Regions from separate parts of the Homo sapiens genome. Here all the other regions are linked to region 1. Evidence: promoter capture Hi-C in human tissues and cell types (Jung and others, 2019). All regions are on one chromosome and are shown on one strand. The core of a region is centred on a gene start or on the middle of the fragment in contact, and the rest is flanking DNA. Distances in the headings are between cores, read along the strand shown.

Region 1 (3,148 bases), core at 398-2,897:
GTTCCTCAACAATACTTTGCAGAAGAAGGAGGCAATTTGGGCTTAGTGTCCAGGATTTGAAGTCAGGACTGGATTCAAATTCTCCTGCCCCTTTGGGAGGTCAAGACAGAAGGACAGCTTGAGGCTAAGAGTTTGAGACCAGCTTGGGCAAAATAGCCAGACTCTGTCTCTACAGAAAAATAAATAAATAAATAAATAAATAAATAAATAAATAAATAAATAAATAATTGCCAGGCCTGAGGTTGCAGTGAGCCGAGATCGCACCATTGCATTTCAGCCCCGGCGACAGTGCGAGACTCTGTCTCAAAAAAAAAAAAAAAAAATTGCCAGGCACGGGGGGGCACGCCTGTAGTCCCAGCTACGCCCAAGGCTGAGGCGGGAGGATCCCTTGAGCCCAGGAGTTCGAGGCTGCCGTGAGCCGTGATCGCACCACTGCACTCTTGCCTGGCTGAGACCTGTGAGTAAGGGCCAGGCACTGCAAGATGCTGCTTAACATGCACCGCAATGTCGTTTGCCCCGGGTGTTCGCGGTGAGGCTCGGATCTCTGAGAGCCTTTCTATCTCTGTCCGCCTAAGGTCTCATTCGCCCCCAATGACTGGATGGTGGCACTTCAGGCAGTGCAGTGAAGTGAATCTTTTCAGTAACATTAGAGTGATACCGCTGTTATAACCTAAAAATTCTCTCTTAAAATACACCACAGAAGGTAATTGCCACCGACTTCTCCGAATAAGGCCCGGGAGGTGGGGCAGGAGGCGCCCCTGAACCCTCGAGGACTCAAGCCTGGCGGGACGCTCCGTGGGTGACGGAGGCGGGAAGGGCCGAGGCGCCTGCATCTCTTAGAGCGCAGCCTCACACTTTCCCCTCCACCAGCCCGAACCTGACCACAGCCTCATGTCACCTCGCGTGCTCCCCCTCCTCGCCTCGGGCCGGTGGTGCCGGTGCGGTGCTTCCACGAGATCGCTCCTGGGTCGTGGGCCCTCGCGCGCGGGGATGGGGGCTGCCCTTCCCAGTCGCCCGGAGCCACTAGCGCGCGTGAGGAAAGGGCCCGATCCCTTCTCCGGGTGTCTGGCCGGCGCGGGAAGGAAAAGGCGCGCCCACCCCGGCTCTCTCCGAGGCCCTCACCTGGATGGTGTGGCCGCTGCCTGGGGCGGTGGGGCCCCCGACCAACTTGCAGTAGAGCTCGGGCTGGGGCCTCCCCTCGCCGGGTCCCCTCTCCCCGCAGGTGGCGGTGGCCCAAATCCTCGCCGCCTCGGCCAGGTTGAAGTAAGTCGGGTGAAGGCTGAGCCCGGCCGCGGCCCCGGGATCCCGAGCGGTCGCCCCGCAGGCTGGCAGCACCCGCAGTACCAGCAGGAGCAGCGGCGTCGGCGGCAGTACTGGCCCCAGTGCCCGACCCCGAGGCCGCGCGGCCGCCGCCATCCAGCCGCGCGGGGTCCTCCCGCCTGAGCCGTCCGCAGAGGGGCTCGGGGGCACCGCCGCTCTCCGCCTGCGCCTCCCGGACCTGCAGCGCCAGGACTAGCGCAGCCGGGGATATGGGCGGCGCCGGGGCCGCTCCCCTTGCTCCACGCGCTGGAAGCCCGCGGCGTGGGGGTGGCCTCTCAGCTCTGGAACCTGCCGCGGCTGGAGCGGGCACCAGCCGGATCAGGAACTGACAGCGCTCAGCCGCGCGCCAGCAGACGGCGTCTCTCCCGCGCGAGGCGCGCTGCAAACTTCGCGGGCGGGGAATGGGAGAGGCGTTCCCGGGCTCCCACCCAGGCGGCGGGAACGGGAGCCTGGGATCTTCGAACCCTCCAGGCGCCAGGACAGAAATTAATTAGATCGTTCTCCTCTCTGGATACTCACCGCTCAGGTCAAAGCCAGAAAAGCCACCTGTGACCTAAGAGTAAAGGAGGCTTGTAAACGAATTTGGTTGAGAGCAGAGGAAACTGCCACTACCTACAGAACTCACATCAAAGACATTTCGATTTCCCAGCCAAGTGTTGAGTCGTCAACTCCTCAACACTGTGCACCTAGGATCCCTGTGGCACTGCAGCCACAGGCTGAGCCAGGGAACTGGGAGTGGTGGAACGTACATATTTAAAAGACAGCCAATAATGCAAGTTGTAATTTGCCAACCTGGAAAGGAACCTTAGAGGAAATCCTTTAGATGCCTAATCTGCTCAATTTTACAAATAAGCTAACAGAGATTGAGTGAGGTACGCCACCTGCCATGATGGCCTCAGAACAGAGAAGACCCCCTCCCCCCACGACCCCGGACTGATGCTTGGTCTTATATGCAGAACACCCTACTAAAACAGAACCCACATAGGCCCTCGAAGAAATTAGAGGAATGCAATATTTGTACAATAAAAATTGCAAAACCTCTTTGAAAGAAATGTTAAAAGACCTAAATGAGTGGAAAAGCCTCCCATGTTCATGGATTAGGAGACAATATTGTGAAGATGGCAATATTTCCTAAAGCAACCTACAATTCAACACAATGGATTTTGATAGGGATCAAAATCCCGACTTTTTTTTTTTTCAGAAATTGACAAGCTGATCCTAAAATTCATGTGGAAATGCAAGAGACCTAGAAAATCCAAAACGATTCTGAGAAAGAATGAAGTCAGTGGACTCACGCTTCCTAGTTTTAAAACTTAATACAAAACTACAGTAATCAAGACAGTGTAGTACCGACATAACGATAAACATAGATCAATGGAATAGAATTGAGAGCTCAGAAATAAACCGTTACATTTATGGTCACTGGATTTTCAACAGGGTGCCAAGACTATTCAATGGGAAAAGAATAATATTTTTAATAAACGCTGCTGGGAAAACTGGACATCCCAAAATAATCTAGTAGGATCCCCACCTCATACTATATGCAAAAATTAACTCAAAATGGATTTAAGATCTCTAAATTTTACATTTAGAGAGCTAAACTATAAAGCTAAAACTATAAAATTCTAAGGGAAAAACACAGGAGAAAATCTTCATGACTTTGGATTAGCAATGCTGTCTTAGCTATGATATCAAAAGCGCAAGCAACAAAAGAAAAATATAAATTGGGCCGGGCACGGTGGCTCATGCCTGTAATCCTAGTACTTTGGGAGGCCGAGGTGGGTGGATCACCTGAGGTCAGGAGTTCAAGACTAGCCTGGGGAAAATG
Region 2 (3,148 bases), core at 240-2,739, 54 kb before region 1:
TCCCTGATCCTCTCAATAATCCCCATTGTATTATTTTCCCATTTCGGAATTTAATCAAGGATTACATATGGCAGTGAGTCGTCAGGTCTCTTTTGTCCCCTTTAATCCACAAGTTTCATCTTGTTTCTAGGTAACGTTTGATTTTTTTTTTTTTTTTTTTTTTTTTTGAGACAGAGTCTTGCTCTGTCGCCCAGGCTGGAGTGCAGTGGTGCGATCTTGGCTCACTGCAAGCTCCGCCTCCCAGGTTCACGCCATTCTCCTGCCTCAGCCTCCTGAGTAGCTGGGACCACAGGCACCTGCCACCACGCCCGGCTAATTTTTTTGTATTTTTAGTAGAGACGGGGTTTCACCGTGTTAGCCAGGATGGTCTCGATCTCCTGACCTCGTGATCCACTTGCCTCAGCCTCCCAAAGTGCTGGGATTACAGGTATGAGCCACCGTGCCCGGCCAGATTCTTTTGAAGCATTATGACACTTAAAAATCCCAACTCTAGCAGCAATTGATGTGCCCCTCTGCCTGTTACAGTATCCTGCCACCCAGGCCTAACTTAATAAGTCCACTGATGGCACCAACTCATCTTCCAGCACTAATTAGCTAGAACATGCCACTTTTCAATGTTTCCCTCCCATTTTTGTCTCAGGAATTATTTCTGAGGTTCCCCAATGTATGTTTATGTGCTCTGAATATTGGTAGGGTGTATCTCTTTGGTTTGGATCCCATTTGCACCAAGCGACTATATGTGTTATTTATCACCACCCCTGCTGTGTAACATGCCCTGGAATCTTGCCAAGGTCTCCAGCTCTGCAGCAAATCTCCTCTGACACTTGCAGATTCAAAATGTCATAGTGAGGCAGAGTGAGTGGTCTCATAATTATGTTCACAGCCAGGTTCAGGCATGTTAAGCCAACAGGTAGGGATTTATTCTGTTTTGGTTGGTAATTTTAAATTATATGCTTGTTGAATCACTCCTTCTGCTACATTCCTTTTTTACTCTCAGTACTTATGTTTACTCTTTGGCCACTGAAAATACTTCAAAGCACACATGAGTGCTGCTAGAGATTTGCTGATATAAACGAGGACCCTCTGTGAGACTAGAAAGCACCAAGCTATGGAGCCACTGTAGGTAGAAAGGCAAAGTTGTGCATTTTCAAAGAGATCGTATTTGGGGGTCAGAGATAAGGGGAGAAATGATGGAGAGGGACTGAGTTGTAATCTCTCCACGTGCTTTTGTAATAAGCTAAAGATAGCTTGAAGTGTGTTGGTGATTGTTTAGGTAGAGAAACAAAGTAGTCTTTTAAATAATGTTTTAATAAAGCAGATAATGATCATAAAAGGGGGAGTGTGAGGCACTTCAACTTCAAAAGACTTCAGGGTGAGTAGGGAAGACAAGAGGGTGTCCTCTGATCCTTGTTTCTCACCCCAGTGCTGCATGCTCTGAAGCCTCTGAAATTATAGATTGGTACAGCCTGTCCTCTATTCATTTCAGGGCCTTCCTGGACTGACTGCATGTAATAGGTGTTCAATACATGCTATGAATGAATAAATGAGTGGATGGATGGATGGATGGATAGTAAAGCTGTGTAGCTGCTACTGAGTTCAAGGGGCAGGTACCATTTGGCAAACACAGAGACAGAGCTGAACCCCGAAGTGGTCCTACCCTGGTGTCTAAGCTAAGTTGTAGTAGAATCAACTCCCCTGGGGGGGATATCTCTGCCCTGTCACCCACTGGCTATGTGACTCCAAGTACATGACTTACCTACTCTGAGATTTCATTTATTTGCTCATAAAATGATCAAAAAAGATATTTAAGAAAATGAAGAATAATATCTACTTCATACAAATTTGATATTCTCCTTCTAAAAGAGCACCTGTCATGCACTGCGGTACCTGTTTTCATCTGTCATTCCCACTAGGCTGCACCATCTTTGGTCTTAATCACTCCTATATCCTCAGAAAAGAGGCTTAATACATGTTGTTGAATTGAAATTAAACTAACAGACGGGATTGTGAAAGTGCAAAATACTGTGCAAGTACACTTAAAGTCACATACAAAATAAGCTTCCTACTCAACTAAATAGTACTCCCTGTGCCAGAAAACTCTAAGTTTATAATAAAAGTGAGATCAGTCTGTCAATAGCTTTATAATTTAATAAACATACTATTCCACAAGGTAGCATTTCATAATTTACTTCTCCCAACTTTTTATTTTGCATAATTTGTAAACCTACAGGACAGCTCAAAGAACAATACAATGAATACTCACATGCTTTTCACCTAGATTCACCAACTATTAACAATATACCATATTTTTTGTTCTCTACACACACACACACACACACACACACACATTTTTGATTCTTTGAAAGGAAGTTACAGACATCATAATACTTTCCTCCTAAATACTTCAGCATGTTATCTTCCAAGAACATGGATATTTCTTCTATATAAATTCAACATTTTCATGTCTAAGAAATTTTATGGATATTTCTTCTATATAAATTCAACATTTTCATGTCTAAGAAATTTTACCATATATTCAAAATTGTATTTAATACATTGTCCATATTCAAATTTCCCTGATCCTCTCAATAATCCCCATTGTATTATTTTCCCATCTCGGGATTTAATCAAGGATTACATACGGCAGTGAGTCGTCAGGTCTCTTTTGTCCCCTTTAATCCACAGCAGTCCCCCAACATGTTTTGTCCTTCCTGACACTGACATTTTGAACAGTCCAAAATGTCCCACAGTCTGTTCTAAGTCTTAATGTTCCATCATAGAATTGGTCACAGAATCACAGAACGTCCCACAGTCTGAATTTGTCTGCTTATTTTATCATAATTTGACTCAGATGGAGCATTCTTGTTTGTTTGTTTTGAGTCAGAGTTTCACTCTGTCGCCCAGGCTGGAGTGCCATGGCACGATCTCGGCTCACTGCAACTTCCACCTCCTGGTTTCAAGTGATCCTTGTGCCTCAGCCTCCCTAGTAGCTGGGATTACAGGTGTGCACCACCATGCCCAGCTAATTTTTGTATTTTTAGTAGAGATGGGTTTTCTCCACGTTGGTCAGGCTGGTCTCGAACTCCTGACCTCAAGTGATCCGCCCGCCTCAGCCTCCCAAAGTGCTGTCAGGTGGGGCATTCTTGGC
Region 3 (3,148 bases), core at 347-2,846, 45 kb after region 1:
GTAAGTGAATTTTTACATCGAAAATTCCAACCTCAGCAATTTGTCACTTTGCTTTTTCCCATCTAGGCTGCATGATGAGATTATTCATGACCACTTTTATCACTGCAGGGAATTTTGCCCTTGGATGTGTTCTGAGTGGAGCTGACATCTCTGCAGCATCTTCTCTAGGACCCTTCTCTCTGACATAGCAGTGGCCTAACTCTTCATCTGTCTCTCCTCCATCCAGCATGGCACCACACTCCTGATGGTTGCTGCCTACGCTGGCCACATAGACTGTGTGAGGGAACTGGTTCTGCAAGGAGCAGACATCAATCTCCAGAGAGAGGTAGGTCAGGCTTTGCACTTGAAGAAAAATGACCAGGCTCAGAGATCTGAAGTTTTCATGATAGTGAACTGGTATGGGGGACAAGAGCCATCATTGCTTTTCTCCCACATTAAAGCCCATTGCAGAGTTTATTGTGCCTACAATGAGGTCCAGCAACGTACTAGCAGTTATAATGCATTTGAGCGTAGCCTGTCGGGCATATCTGAGGTAACCAAACCTCTTACCACCTGCCTATAAACACTCACACTTTTTTTTTTATCAAGCTTAAATCAGTTCTTTATTACTCCCTTGGGATGAGATACTGTAGGATTTATAGCATTTTCATATAGATCATTATATTTTTAGAAGAGTTGAGTCACCAGCCTATTTGTAATGAGGCTCACTTGCTAGGATGTCTCAATCATCCTCCCCAAACCATGTTTTCAAAGGACTGCTCTCTAACTGGCCATGAATTAAATAAGCTCTCCTGGAAAAAGCCGTATGGGTCAACACTGGACAAAAATGTGAGCCTGTTCCCACACTTCATTCAAGGACAATCTTGGGAGTTTGGTCTTGCTTGAGGATCCATTCTTGGTCTAATCTAGAGAAGCAGAAGGGAGTCTGGGACTTTTTTTTAAGATGGAGTCTCGCCCTGTGGCCCAGGCTGGAGTGCAATGGCGCAACCTCGGCTCATGCAACCTCCACCTCCCAGGTTCAAGTGATTCTCATGCCTCAGCCTCCCGAGTAGCTGGGACTGCAGGTGTGTGCCACCACGCCCAGCTAATTTTCTGTATTTTTAGTAGACATGGGGTTTCACCATGGTGGCCAAGATGGTCTCGATCTCCTGACCTCGTGATCTGCCCACATCAGCCTCCCAAAGTGCCGGGATTGCCTAGGCTGGGACATTTTAACATACTTTGGGGCTCAATTCTGAGAAAGCTCCATCCATATATTTCCAAGCTGACCCAGGACCTGGTAAACTAATCTTTATGGAGACACACGCTCAGGTCACCCCTAGAGTGTATCTGACCTCTCAGTTCACACTGACTCAGACCTGAGATGGGCTTCCTGGGCAAGTCCAGACTGAACCACTTGGTTTTCCTTGGTCCAGCCTTATTTTATCCCAGGTCATGCCTTGCAACATTTTAGAAAGACAATTCACCAACCAAACTTTCATCAAGCCAGTATATCGTATATCTCATTCTTCCAGCCTGGACCGTCACCTCTGAGTGGAGCAAATTAAGACACATCAGGTCTCAGGACTGTGTCAAGAGTTCCAGGTGTAACATAGGCCTGGGCAACATAGCAAGACCCCATCTCTACAAAAAAATTTAAAAATTTAGCCAGACATGGTGGTCTACACCTATAGTACCAGTTACTTGAGAGGCTCAGGCTAGAGGCTCGTTTAAGCCCAGAAGTTACAGGCTGCAGTGAGCCATGATTGTACTACCAGCCTAGGCAATGCAGAGAGACCCTGACTCAAAAATAGAGTTCCAAGACACATCCAGATGTCCTTCCCACCACCCGTCTGGGTGTTGGAGGCCTTGGCTGTGGACCATGAAAGAGTGACATGCAGAATCTGGGACTGGGTCTCTGTAGCCCTGGATCAACAGGCCTGGTCTCTTGAGAGGAGCAGTATAAAGAGACTACAGCAAATGCAGTCTTCTCACAAACAGATTCTTTGGTGCAATTTCCATAACACTAGATCGTTGTTTGAGGTCATTTTCACTTCAGCACTTAATTTTCCTGTGGGATGAAAATATCTGGACCCACTTAGAATTACAGTTTAAAATTACTTTAATCTTTTTATTTTTCCTCTCTGCTTTATGGTCTTTGTTTATTACAACTTTAAAGACAGTTTTTCTCTAATAAAAACAATATGGTCCAGATCTGGTTTACTTTAAAAACTTTATCCTGAAGGACAAATTGCACATGCACAAAAATCTCTCTGAAACAACTGAGAAAAGCAGCTAGAAGAGGAGAGAAGTATTTGATTTCTAGCCAGTCTATGGTTTCTATGGTTTTATATTTATCCATTTGGTTCCAATTGCTCAACTAATCTTGGAGATGAAAACTCTCGTAGCACTGAGAACAAAAGCCTTTGAAGATTTACCAAAGTGTACTCAGCTTAAAGGTAACCTGCGTGGCTCAAATGATGGTGCTATGTAAGTTCCTGGCAGTCCCTGAATTTCCTGAGACTGTGTCAGTCTGGGGCAAGAGGGCTGCCAAGCCAAAGGCAGACCTCAGCCTCCTGTACCAGTTTTGGAAGCTAAGAGTGCCTTGCAGTGCTTTGAAACTTACTCCTATGGCAGACTTCTGCCTTGATCCATTGTTAGTTAATCCACTTTGCAATATCAGAATATTTGTCTCCTGAAAAACTACCTGCCACTCCTTGCTTAGGTCAGCTCTCTAGATACACAGAGCTTGCTAGAGAGACAAACTGGAAACTAATGTTCCTGAAACACTATTGCTGTAAAGAACCCACAATTGGCTGATGACACCTCTCAGGCATAGGAGCTGCACATACAGTTGGCATGAAGCCCTGAAGTAAGGCACACATATTTAAAACTTTTATTCACATTCCAGACTAAGGTATAGCTCCTATTTATGGATTGCTGCATTGAGGTACAGAATGATTAATAGTAGTATGTATGTTCTAAAATCAGCTCAAACTGCTCTAATAATGATTTATGTAATTAATGTACCAAGAAAGCCTATTGAAAAGCAAATTATTTATCTTACTAAAGAAACAACTTCTAGAAAAGACCTTTGGTAGTCTCTAAAATTTAATATCTATTGAGAAGGTGAGAGTTTTCCTATTCTAGCCAAGTTTCTTCCTCCAGA
Region 4 (3,148 bases), core at 357-2,856, 35 kb before region 1:
CTGGGCCAGGCTCTGGCTGGGCGCTCTTGCCCTCATGAGAGCTGTGCCAGCTGCTCTGCCCACCTGGGACCCTGTGCTGGAGACACCACCTGGATTTCAGCTGCCTGGGCCCACCTGGATGGCAATTTAAACTGATTCCAAAGAGGGGAGGGGTGCTGCATTTCCCGGCTCTGGGCTTCCTTGCCCCACTCACCCTCCCCATCTCTTTGGGAGCTCCCAGGATACTTGGTGTAGGAGGTGGCTCAAGGGATGGTGAGAGTCTGCCCAGCAAGGATGACTGTGAAGGGAGGGGAAAGAACTGAATGTTCCATGCTGGTTATGCTGGTTACTCTGTGATGCTGAGGAGTGATAAAGGTAAACATACAATTTTATCACTCAAAGTGCTTAAAACCTATGGAACAGAGTATGTCATGCATGGTGCGCTGAATCTGGAATTCCTAAGCCATAGAATGTTTGCATTTGTGGTTTAAGAATTAAAGAGAGAAGTGCAACAGCTCAGAAGTTTGCTCTCAAATGAGAGAGACACAGGCACATAAAGCACCCTTATCTGGAGGCTACAAGACCAAAGGGAACCTTGTGAGGAAGAGCAGCAGAAGCTGCCAGGTGGAGGAGACAAAACCTGGCCCCTCTGGTCTAGAGTGAGCTGCGCAAGTCCTGGGGAGGCAGGATGGTCACATTGTCTGTGCCCTGAGGCCGCCTGGGGACCCAGTACAACTGTACTAGACAGGCAAAGAGCTTGGTCTTGCTGGAGCCCCCCTTATGGGGAGCCCCAGACCTCCTTAGCTCACTCCCCACCCACCTCCACTCCCCTCTCTGCACACACACCCCCAGTGACTCAGCAGGCCACCACTCTGCCAAGGACACAGCATGGCACCCTCCTCAAGGCTGGCAGTGACCACCAGAAAAGAATGGTGGGTTAGGCCGGGCGCGGTGGCTCATGCCTGTAATCCCAACACTTTGGGAAGCCGAGGCAGGTGGATTGCCTGAGGTCAGGAGTTCAAGACCAGCCTGACCAACACGGTGGAACCCCGTCTCTACTAAAAATACAAAAGATTAGCTGGGCGTGGTGGCCCATACCTATAATCCTAGCTACTCAGGAGGCTTTGGCAGGAGAATCACTGGAACCTGGGAGGCGGAGGCTGCAGTGAACCGAGATCGTGCCACTGCACTCTAGCCTGGGTGACAAAGCAAGACTCTGTCTCAAAAAAAAAAAAAGAATGGTGAGTTATACTGTTATACTTAGAAAAGGTGGTTTGGTTTGGTTCTTGTTTTTTCCTAAAGTAAGGAAATGCGATGGGAGTAAAAAGTGAAAAAGAGAGAGAGGGGAATCACAGAAACAGGAATAGAGAAAAAAGAAGCATCAGGAAGGAAAGAGTGAAGGAAGACCATTTGGTGGTGCAGGAAGGCTGCAGGGTCACAGATATGAGAAGGAGCAAGGGCTCTGTGGGGGCTGGGCAGGTGCCCTGAGGACAGCAGGCAGAGAAGAGGTGCCAGGCACAGTGACTCCCCTGAGACGCCACATTTAACTCAAGCTTCCGTGAACTGTCATGAAGAATTCATGAAATTCAGTTTTTCCTTATATATGCTTGCCATTAATAGTAATAGGAAAATGGCCATGATTTAAAGCCCAAGTGTGCTTGAAATTGCAAAAGTTCCACAAGGGAAGAAGCATATAAAATAGTTTTCAAGATTAGCTAAGGAATGAAATATGCTCTTTTTTAAAAAATCAATTTCCATTTACTGAGTATTTTTCTGATTCTGTTGGCATTGAAAGATCTCTAGCAAACCAGCCTCATTCTGAGACAAAACAGTCAGAAGCTCATATCAGGGGGACGGGGTGGCAGGGGGTGAGATAGGGCATGGAGGGCATCAGGAAATAGTTCATACTGGGGAGACAGAGGACATCAGGAAAACTCCAAGGAAGCTTTTTCATTGATAACTCAGATTCTACCAGAAATCATTGTTCCTTTTATCCTCTTTCTATAGAACCCTTTTATTTTCTCCAAAGAGAAAATGGCTTTATTGATTTTCTAATTCTAAAAGTAATACATGCTCATTGTAGAAAATAAAGATGTATACGTACATACCATTGACTATTACTCAGCCATAAAAAGGAATGAATTAATAGCATTCGTAGCAACCTGGATGGGATTGGAGACTATTATTCTAAGTGAAGTAACTTAGGAATGGAAAACCAAATATCGTATGTTCTCGTTCATATGTGAGAGCTAAGCTATGAGGATGCAAAGGCATAAGAATTACTCAATGGACTTTGGGGACTTGGGTTAAAGGGTGGGAGGGGGATGAAGGATAAAAGTCTACAAATTGGGTGCAGTGTATACTGCTTGGGTGACGGGTGCACCAAAATCTGACAGATCACCCCTAAAGAACTTACTAATGTAACCAAACACCACCTGTTCCCCAAAAACCTATAGAAATAAAAATTTTAAAAAAAATACAGATAGTATAGGTAACATGGATTTAGTTCTTACAGCATGTAAGGCACTATTCTGAGAGCTTTTTCTGTATTATCTGATTAATTTCTCACAAGAACCCTCCTAGGTTGGTACTAGATTTATCCCTGGATTTCAGATGAAGATACTGACCCCGAGACATTCGTTAGACCATCCAATTACACACAGCCAGGAAGCTGTGGAGTGAGATGTTTACCTAGGTAAAAACCCAGAGCCAGCAAGCTGACATACACTGTGAGATTTACAGAAGAAAGTAAAAATCACTGATCTCCCCATCCACCGAGAAGCACTCTTAGCATGTTCAAGTATCTCTTTCCAGACTTTGTTCTTTGCTTATATAGGCACATTTTTTTTTTCCTACTAAATGTGATCATTCCATACAGTCTAGCTAGTTTACATATAGTTTTGGTCTGTTTCTTCACCATATAGCACAGACACATGTTGTGTCGATAAAGACCATTCTATGGCATCATGTGGTGCCTATTAATCCACTAACTGAGTCAGTCCCCTTTTATTGGACATGAGATTGTTTCCCACTGGATGCTATTTTTATAATGCTTTGGTGAGTATCTTGCATCAGACATTAGAGCATTTATCTCATGAATTCCTTTGGATAAATTCAGAGTAGTAGTTTCATGTCAAAGATAGAAATTTTTTTAATGCAAATATTCTGG

Evidence for each region. Contacts are between HindIII fragments. The study calls those that stand out against the background at their distance.
Region 2: a fragment that was not itself captured here is called in contact with the fragment with the promoter of LAMA3 in region 1 in 2 of the 25 tissues and cell types used here (IMR-90 fibroblasts and mesendoderm cells).
Region 3: a contact is called between a fragment that was not itself captured here and the fragment with the promoter of LAMA3 in region 1, in 2 of the 25 tissues and cell types used here (IMR-90 fibroblasts and aorta).
Region 4: a contact is called between a fragment that was not itself captured here and the fragment with the promoter of LAMA3 in region 1, in 1 of the 25 tissues and cell types used here (IMR-90 fibroblasts).

Annotation. Positions count from the first base shown.
Region 1 is chr18:23,687,952-23,691,099 of GRCh38, reverse strand. It overlaps LAMA3 (laminin subunit alpha 3), which reads right to left and starts at 1,647. Exons shown (of 75, transcript NM_198129.4): 1 at 1,123-1,647. The coding sequence starts at 1,416. RefSeq lists an enhancer at 1,739-2,288. The HindIII fragment of the contact is 10,376 bases long and covers 1-3,148 here.
Region 2 is chr18:23,741,851-23,744,998 of GRCh38, reverse strand. All of the region lies in intron 2 of LAMA3 (laminin subunit alpha 3), which reads right to left. Among named protein-coding and RNA genes, the nearest start is that of LAMA3, 54 kb to the right of the region's middle. The HindIII fragment of the contact is 7,323 bases long and covers 1-3,148 here.
Region 3 is chr18:23,643,366-23,646,513 of GRCh38, reverse strand. ANKRD29 (ankyrin repeat domain 29) reads left to right here. Exons shown (of 10, transcript NM_173505.4): 3 at 227-325. Among named protein-coding and RNA genes, the nearest start is that of ANKRD29, 18 kb to the left of the region's middle. The HindIII fragment of the contact is 7,883 bases long and covers 1-3,148 here.
Region 4 is chr18:23,723,182-23,726,329 of GRCh38, reverse strand. All of the region lies in intron 2 of LAMA3 (laminin subunit alpha 3), which reads right to left. Among named protein-coding and RNA genes, the nearest start is that of LAMA3, 35 kb to the right of the region's middle. RefSeq lists an enhancer at 1-373. The HindIII fragment of the contact is 5,076 bases long and covers 1-3,148 here.